Regions from separate parts of the Homo sapiens genome. Here all the other regions are linked to region 3. Evidence: promoter capture Hi-C in 16 types of primary human blood cells and fetal thymus (Javierre and others, 2016). All regions are on one chromosome and are shown on one strand. Each heading gives the region's core, a stretch centred on a gene start or on the middle of the fragment in contact. The rest is flanking DNA. Distances are from core to core; before and after follow the strand shown. Region 1 has its middle 14 kb from the start of UCHL1. Region 2 has its middle 37 kb from the start of UCHL1. Region 3 holds the start of LIMCH1-AS1 (LIMCH1 antisense RNA 1).

The links. The method cuts DNA at HindIII sites, captures the fragments that hold promoters and counts their contacts. A CHiCAGO score of 5 or more calls a contact.
Region 1: a contact is called between a fragment that was not itself captured here and the fragment with the promoter of LIMCH1-AS1 in region 3, in 4 of 17 cell types (M0 macrophages, M2 macrophages, monocytes and 1 more). The highest score is 7.1, in M0 macrophages.
Region 2: a fragment that was not itself captured here is called in contact with the fragment with the promoter of LIMCH1-AS1 in region 3 in 6 of 17 cell types (M1 macrophages, M2 macrophages, monocytes and 3 more); the score reaches 7.5 in M1 macrophages.

The regions. Positions count from the first base shown.
Region 1 is chr4:41,270,013-41,272,739 of GRCh38, reverse strand. No RefSeq gene overlaps it. Among named protein-coding and RNA genes, the nearest start is that of UCHL1, 14 kb to the right of the region's middle. The HindIII fragment of the contact is 2,755 bases long and covers 1-2,696 here.
Region 2 is chr4:41,292,431-41,295,283 of GRCh38, reverse strand. No RefSeq gene overlaps it. Among named protein-coding and RNA genes, the nearest start is that of UCHL1, 37 kb to the right of the region's middle. The HindIII fragment of the contact is 536 bases long and covers 1,335-1,870 here.
Region 3 is chr4:41,691,235-41,694,196 of GRCh38, reverse strand. LIMCH1-AS1 (LIMCH1 antisense RNA 1) reads left to right here and starts at 1,400. Exons shown (of 3, transcript XR_002959789.2): 1 at 1,400-1,655. It overlaps LIMCH1 (LIM and calponin homology domains 1), which reads right to left. Exons shown (of 32, transcript NM_001330672.2): 31 at 1,813-1,915. The HindIII fragment of the contact is 18,346 bases long and covers 1-2,962 here.

The DNA.
Region 1 (2,727 bases), core at 70-2,569, 420 kb after region 3:
AATCAATAAATGTAATCCAGCATATAAACAGAACCAAAGACAAAAAACACATGATCATCTCAATAGATGCAGAAAAGGCCTTTGACAAAATTCAACAACGCTTCATGCTAAAAACTCTCAATAAATTAGGTATTGATGGGATGTATCTCAAAATAATAAGAGCTATCTATGACAAACCCACAGCCAATATCATACTGAATGGACAAAAACTGGAAGCATTCCCTTTGAAAACTGGCACAAGACAGGGATGCCCTCTCTTACCACTCCTATTCAACTTAGTGTTGGAAGCTCTGGCCAGGGCAATCAGGCAAGAGAAAGAAATAAAGGGTATTCAATTAGGAAAAGAGGAAGTCAAATTGTCCCTGTTTGCAGATGACATGATTGTATATCTAGAAAACCCCATTGTCTCAGCCCAAAATCTCCTTAAGCTGATAAGCAACTTCAGCAAAGTCTCAGGATACAAAATCAATGTGCAAAAATCACAAGCATTCTTATACACCAATAACAGACAAACAGAGAGCCAAATCATGAGTGAACTCCCATTCACAATTGTTTCAAAGAGAATAAAATACCTAGGAATCCAACTTACAAGGGATGTGAAGGACCTCTTCAAGGAGAACTACAAACCACTGCTCAATGAAATAAAAGAGGATACAAACAAATGGAAGAACATTCCATGCTCATGGGTAGAAAGAATCAATATCGTGAAAATGGCCATACTACCCAAGGTAATTTATAGATTCAATGCCATCCCCATCAAGCTACCAATGACTTTCTTCACAGAATTGGAAAAAACTACTTTAAAGTTCATATGGAATGAAAAAAGAGCCCGCATCACCAAGTCAATCCTAAGCCAAAAGAACAAAGCTGGAGGCATCATGCTACCTGACTTCAAACTATACTACAAGGCTACAGTAACCAAAACAGCATGGTACTGGTACCAAAACAGAGATATAGACCAATGGAACAGAACAGAGCCCTCAGAAATAATGCCGCATATCTACAACTATTTGATCTTTGACAAACCTGACAAAAACAAGCAATGGGGAAAGGATTCCCTATTTAATAAATGGTGCTGGGAAAACGGGCTAGCCATATGTAGAGAGCTGAAACTGGATCCCTTCCTTACACTTTATACAAAAATTAATTCAAGATGGATTAAAGACTTACATGTTAGACTTAAAACCATAAAAACCCTAGAAGAAAACCTAGGCAATACCATTCAGGACATAGGCATGGGCAAGGACTTCATGTCTAAAACACCAAAAGCAATGGCAACAAAAGACAAAATTGACAAATGGGATCTAATTAAACTAAAGAGCTTCTGCACAGCAAAAGAAAATACCATCAGAGTGAACAGGCAACCTACAGAATGGGAGAAAATTTTCACAACCTACTCATCTGACAAAGGGCTAATATCCAGAATCTACAATGAACTCAAACAAATTGACAAGAAAAAAACAAACAACACCATCAAAAAGTGGGTGAAGGATATGAACAGACACTTCTCAAAAGAAGACATTTATGCAGCCAAAAAACACATGAAAAAATGCTCATCATCACTGGCCATCAGAGAAATGCAAATCAAAACCACAACGAGATACCATCTCACACCAGTTAGAATGGCAATCATTAAAAAGTCAGGAAACAACAGGTGCTGGAGAGGATGTGGAGAAGTAGGAACACTATTACACTGTTGGTGGGACTGTAAACTAGTTCAACCATTGTGGAAGTCAGTGTGGCCATTCCTCAGGGATCTAGAACTAGAAATACCATTTGACCCAGCCATCCCATTACTGGGTATATACCCAAAGGATTATAAATCATGCTGCTATAAAGACACATGCACACGTATGTTTATTGTGGCACTATTCACAATAGCAAAGACTTGGAACCAACCTAAATGTCCAACAATGATAGACTGGATTAAGAAAATGTGGCACATATACACCATGGAATACTATGCAGCCATAAAAAATGATGAGTTCATGTCCTTTGTAGGGACATGGATGAAGCTGGAAACCATCATTCTCAGCAAACTATCACAAGGACAAAAAACCAAACACCGCATGTTCTCACTCATAGGTGGGAACTGAACAATGAGAACACATGGACACAGGAAGGGGAACATCACACACCGGGGACTGTTGTGGGGTTGGGGGAGGGGGGAGGGATAGCATTAGGAGATATAGCTAATGCTAAATGACAAGTTAATGGGTGCAGCACACCAACATGGCACATGTATACATATGTAACAAACCTGCATGTTGTGCACATGTACCCTAAAACTTAAAGTATAATAATTTTTAAAAAAAAGAAATTGCAGATAATTTGAATACATGAATAAATTTTCTGTAAATTATGCCCCCCCCCCAAAAAAAAAAAGTTGGAATCAGGAATATTACCACCATAATCAGGGCTTAGAGAACTGTGAATAAGGCAGTTGAGACCCAAGTTATCTGGATTCCTGGCACCAGACAGGACAGAGCCCTTTTGTGAGGATCACAGTATAGGCAGGAAGCATTGGGTTTCTTCCCTGCTTCCCTCATTTTGTGTAACTGGAAGTGAACTGTTACATTCAACGTCCATTGTTGAGAACAGACGTCCTCCTTTAATATTTAATGAAAACCTATACATTACATAATAGTGTATCCTTATCTATAAAACAAGGGCACATTGATCTATAAAGTAAAGCTTAACAACAAATGCCAAAGACTTTTGCTTTTT
Region 2 (2,853 bases), core at 353-2,852, 400 kb after region 3:
ATTCTGGTCAGAAGCAATCATAGAGCTCCTTGGCTTGGAGGAAGGCTACAGCAGCTTCCTTTAATTAGCTTAGGATCCAGATAGATAGAGAATGGACACAGCCCACCAGAGACTTCCCCCAAGACCCAACCCTGGACACTCTGCCAACCAGGCCCCTTGGAGGAGATGTCAAAGCTCACCAGGGATCTCTGTTTCGCCCCACATGACAGCAAGCTGTCACCGAGGATTCTCTTTCTTTACTCTTTGTGCATCTCAATCCTTTTCTTCCTGCTTCCATGACTTGTTCCCAGCTACTTCACGGGCAGGTGTTAGGTTCTAACTGAGGTCCGAGGGGAGTCAGTGGGGTGGCAGGTAGCTGGAAAAACATTCGAGGAATTGTAGACAGTTTCAACATGGCTTTTACCCTCTCTCTGGCACAAGCGAGCCTAGGCATGAGCTGTGGGCACGAGCTGTATGTACATTCTCTCCCTGGGCATGAGCCATATGTACAGTGTCAGCAGGGTAATTATACCTTTTACAGGCAATAGTGACTCCAAGCCAAGCATGAGCTCACATGGGTGATCACCTAATGCACCTTACGTGGCGTGGTTACATAATGTGCCTGACATGGCATGGTTAAATACTGTGTGGAGTTGTGCACCTGCACTCCAAACCTGCTGAGTTATGCTGCACCAGAAGGCTTCCTCAGACTACTCCTGACTAAAGCACAGCCATCTCCCTTACAGCAGGCTGAGACACCCTTACCTTTCTAATTCTCAGCTTCTGGATATACTGCTGTGTAGAACTGCACATGCTCAAGGACTCAATAAGTAACCATGAAACATGAGCACAATTTGCTTTCCAAAAGAATGGCTGCAACAGTGATTCATTTCAGTTATTCCTCAAACTCAGGGATGGTAGCTTATAAAACAAAAAATAATAAACTTTGGATACTTGGGCCCCACCCAGAATTAGCATCTCTGGGAGTAAGGAATTTGATTTTTTCTTTAAGGAGGTTTTGTAGAATAGCCAACACTGAGGGCTAGACTAGATGGTGTTTCTCAAGTGTGCCTGGTCAGGAGAATTAGCTGGGTAGCATATTAAGTCCACCAAGTCCCAGCCTTCCTCTGGAGATCCAAGTTTAATAGGTCTGGATGGGCCAGGCTCAGTGGCTCACACCTGTAATCCTAGCACTTTGGGAGGCTGAGGCAGGAGAATCGCTTGAACCCAGAAGGTGGAGGTTGCAGTGAGCCAAGGTTGCACCACTGCACTCCAGCCTGGGTGATAGAGTGAGACTCTGTCTCAAAAAAAAAAAAAAAAAAGTCTAGATGGGCCTATCAATAGATTTGGAAGCTTAACAGGATCCCCTGGTGATTCTTACAATTGAGCAGGCTTGGGAAGCACTGGGTATATCTGGGTTTCCCAAACTTCTCTTGTATAAGAATTACTTGGTGTTGGCCGGGCACGGTGGCTCATGCTTGTAATCCCAGCACTCTGGGAGGCTGAGGCAGGTGGATCACGAGGTCAGAATTTTGAGACCATCCTGGCTAACACCGTGAAACCCCGTCTCTACTAAAAAAATTAGCCGGGTGTGGTGGCACGGGCCTGTAGTCTCAGCTACTCGGGAGGCTGAGGCAGGAGAATCGCTTGAACCTGGGAGGCAGAGGTTGCAGTGAACCGAGATCATGCCACTGTACTCCAGCCTGGGCAACAGAGACTCCATCTCAAAAAAAGAAAGAAGAATTACCTGGTGTTCTATTTGAAAGCACAGATTCCTTTGCCCCCATCCAGATAAACAGAATGAGACTTCCTGGCTTTGAGGTCTGGCAATCTATTTATTTAACAAAGACTTCCACTTGATTCTTATTATCTGAGAAATGGCAACAAAGCTTTGTTGATTGTCAACTTTGTCTTGCCCATAGCATCATCAGGGAACTTTTGTGTGTGTGGTAAAATACACAAACATAGCATTTACCATTAGTGACATATAATCTGTTCTAATACGTTCAGAATATACAGCCATCACCACTGTCTAGTTCCAGAACACTTTCATCTCTCATCTGGGAACTTCTAAAACATACAGATGCCCAGGCTGTACCCCAACTGAATAAATGAGAATCCCTGTGGTGGAACCCACACATTGGGACTCCTTAAGGCATTCCAGTTGATTACAATGTACAGTCAAGTTTGGGACCACTCAGGATTCCTGCCCTCCAGAAAGCCTTGTTAATGCATCCCATGGGGGACTCTCGTGCTGCTACTCTGCAGTCCATTAAGTGCAACCTCACATGGCTCTATGCCATTCTGGCATTCTGGTTTCTTTTCTTTTCTTTCCTCCCTCCTTCTCTCCCTCTTTTCTTTTCTCTTTTCTTTTCTTTTCTTTTCTTTTCTTTCTTTCTTTCTTTCTTTCTTTCTTTCTTTCTTTCTTTCTTTCTTTCTTTCTTTTCTTTCTCTTTCTCTCTCTCTTTCTTTCTTAGAAAAGACATCTATATGAGTGAATTAACCCTTTATCTTTCTTTTTTTAGAAAAGACATCTATAGGCCAGGCACAGTGGCTCATGCCTGTAATCCCAGCACTTTGGGAGGCCGAGGTGGGAGGATCATGAGGTCAGGAGATCGAGACCATCCTGGCTAACATGGTGAAACCCTGTCTCTACTAAAAATACAAAAACAAAATTAGCCGGGAGTTGTGGTGGGCACCTGTAGTCCTAGCTACTCAGGAGGCTAAGGAAGGAGAATGGCATGAACCCAGGAAGTGGAGCTTGCAGTGAGCCGAGATCGCACCACTGCACTTCAGCCTGGGTGACAGAGCAAGACTCCGTCTCAAAAAAAAAAAAAAAAAAAAAGAAAAGAAAAGAAAAGAAAAGACATCTAT
Region 3 (2,962 bases), core at 151-2,650:
TATGGTAAATCCTGGTAAAACACTGCATTTCACATATAAAATAAAGAAAAAATCATTTTTGTGGCCTACCTCCAAATCACTTTCTTATTTTTCAGCTGATTACAGGAACTCCATGGTTTTGAAATTAAAAGCAGTTAATGCCCTTTATATTTGTATATTTAAGAGAAAAATTCCTGGTCTTGAATTAAAAAGCTAATTTCCAAAAGAAATGACAAAGAATCACCCAACCTCTCAATTTAAAAAAATCTAGATGAAAAGAGGTCACTGTCACCCAGAGGGGGGTTCAGGTTGTTCTGTTGGCATCCTTCAAGCACTTTAAATTATTAAACAAACTCAGATCTACAGCACTTTTCAAATCTTTCTGAGCAGTCCTTCAACCTAACAGTGCCCTCTTCTGGTTCCATAAATTACATTCACTGTGGTTCACTGAGGTAGAGAAAAAGAATAATTTATAGAAGACGATAGGAAAATTCGCATTGAAATCTGGGAGAAAAGAGTTGTTTTCCTTGTTAGCATATAAAAGCAAAAGTCCAGTTTAAATAAAATGTATATAATTATTACCTATTATACATGTACTATATATGTTAATTTGTGTGTATATATTTATGATATATGGTATACTATTTATATAATTTAATATATAAAATACATAGTATAAAAACTAATATCATGCATGATCTAAATAGTCCAGTTTGATAGCAGCGGCTCTAAGTTGGAACTGTTTTGATCTCAAGTCAAATATTTATTATAAATCTAAACTACCTGGGTTTGATTAAATTTTTATTTCCCATTTTATTAATAGGCATATTTAACTGAATTTACTAAATCTATAGCTATAAAACAAATTACCTTCAATTTTTATTCTCAAAGTTTTCAGTCTTGCAGAGATTTGAGATCCATGTAAAAAGGCAGTAAAAACGTGACTTCACTTTGAGAAATAGTCATTCTTGAATTTCACACTCCCTATCTTCACTCCAATTTTTTAAAAGAGTTTCTGACTGATGAATCTGCACTAAAAGGTCTTCTGCTGTCTAGGTGACCCACCAGAAGGACTGTACTCATGATGGAGAATGAGGAAACATTCCGAGGCAAGCCACTGGCCATTTTCAGATTTTCTAAACAGCGGCTAGGCAACAGCACCCCCTGCTGCCCCGCAAACTAACATGCACCTTCCACAGTAGGAGGCCCGGATGCAAGACGGGAAAGCAAGCAGGCTTCTCACTTACTAAGGCAGCAAATAATTTGTTAAGCGCATATTGTTACTAAGATATTGTAGAGGTGGGAGGTGGGGAAGAATCCACAGAGAAGTGGAACCCTCATTGTTGTCTCTCAAGGAACTTTCCATTCAGTTGGGAACACATATGACGTAATGAAACTCCTGAATGTAGGGCGTGGAGACATTGATGAGTTGGTGCTCGATCTGAGAAACAGTGGAGAGCCGCTCTCCACATTTAACCATCCCCAAATGGTGCCAGTCGTCTAAAGACATGCCTGAACAAGTGACAGTGTTTGACAGACCTTATATCTCCTTTCTATCACACCAAAATCTCTGTAGTGAGCTCAGGCAATGTTTTGACCTGCTGGTGTGCTGATGCACTTCAGGATAAAAAGAATTGGTCCACATTGTAGCAATAACTTCCAGGAAGAAACGAGTGGTAAATATCTTTTCTTTTTTAACCTAGATGTTAAGAAACCTTTCTCTCAGATTAGAGTGTCAACGGCTGGGGAAAAATATTTGAATTCCTAAATTGGGTCCTATGGAAGACATACGATTACACTCGGTCATCATGAGGCATTCTCCCCAGTACTTACTTCTGGATCGCATGTAGCAATCATTACAGTTCAGGAGACCATTTCGAATCCTAACATCCGTCCCACTCACTGCATCTCCAAGCTGGCCTTTACAAATTCCACACTATAGGGTAAAAAGAACAGACATCATAAGATGCATAAGGAATTGTTTCTTTCTAATGCTTAGTTACTGTTTATGTGAATAGCACAATAATCCCTTCTACAATCACCACATTTGTGGAGCATCTATTATGTGTAAGATGCTGCACCAGTGTCAACTTACAGCAAAAGCAAATATACAGTTAGCAATTTTAGCTTAATTCCTTGCATTTTACAGAGAAGGACACTGGTTCAGTGAGGTTTGTTGGCTTGTTCCTAGGTTGTGGAGCTGATAAGTGGTAGCAGGTTGACTCCAAAGCCTAGCGTCTTAACCTCTATCATACACCGTTTCTCAATCAAAATGGAAGAACCATTTTAAACACATTAAACCCTAGTGGCTTTAAATAAACACATGGCCAATGAGTTATCAATTGAAATGTGTCCATCAATAATCTTTAAAGGCTTGCCAGCATCGTTGCTAAGTTCTACCAGATCAAAATTTCTAGGAAGTACCTGTTCCATTTGTTTATTTTATTTATTTTTTAAGACAGTGTCTCGCTCTGTAGGCCAGGCTGGAGTGCAATGGCATGATCTCAGCTCACTGCAACCTCCACTTCCTGGGCTCAAGCAATTCTCCTGCCTCAGCCTCCTGAGTAGATGGGATTACAGGCGTGTGCCACCACGCCTGGCTATTTTTTTTTTTTTTTTTTTTTTGTATTTTTAGTAAAGATGGAGTTTCACCATGTTGGCCAGGCTGGTCTCGAACTTCTGACCTCAGGTTATCTGCCCACCTTGGCCTCCCAAAGTGCTGGGATTACAGGCATGAGCCACCGTGCCCAGCCTGCTGTTCCATTTTATATTTCCACATTAAAAGCAGTGATATTCAGAGCAACAAATCCACTGGGAATTTCCACCAACACAGGCTGAGTGCAGAAAGAGACTGTAGGATATACTTGGATGTTTGTACCAGAAGGGTAGAAAGGCAGTGGAAGTTGGTGTGGGTGCCAGCCTCTTGCAGGGGGACCAGGATCTAGCCCCTAATTCATGCTCTAAGGTGACCTGGGACAGAGTG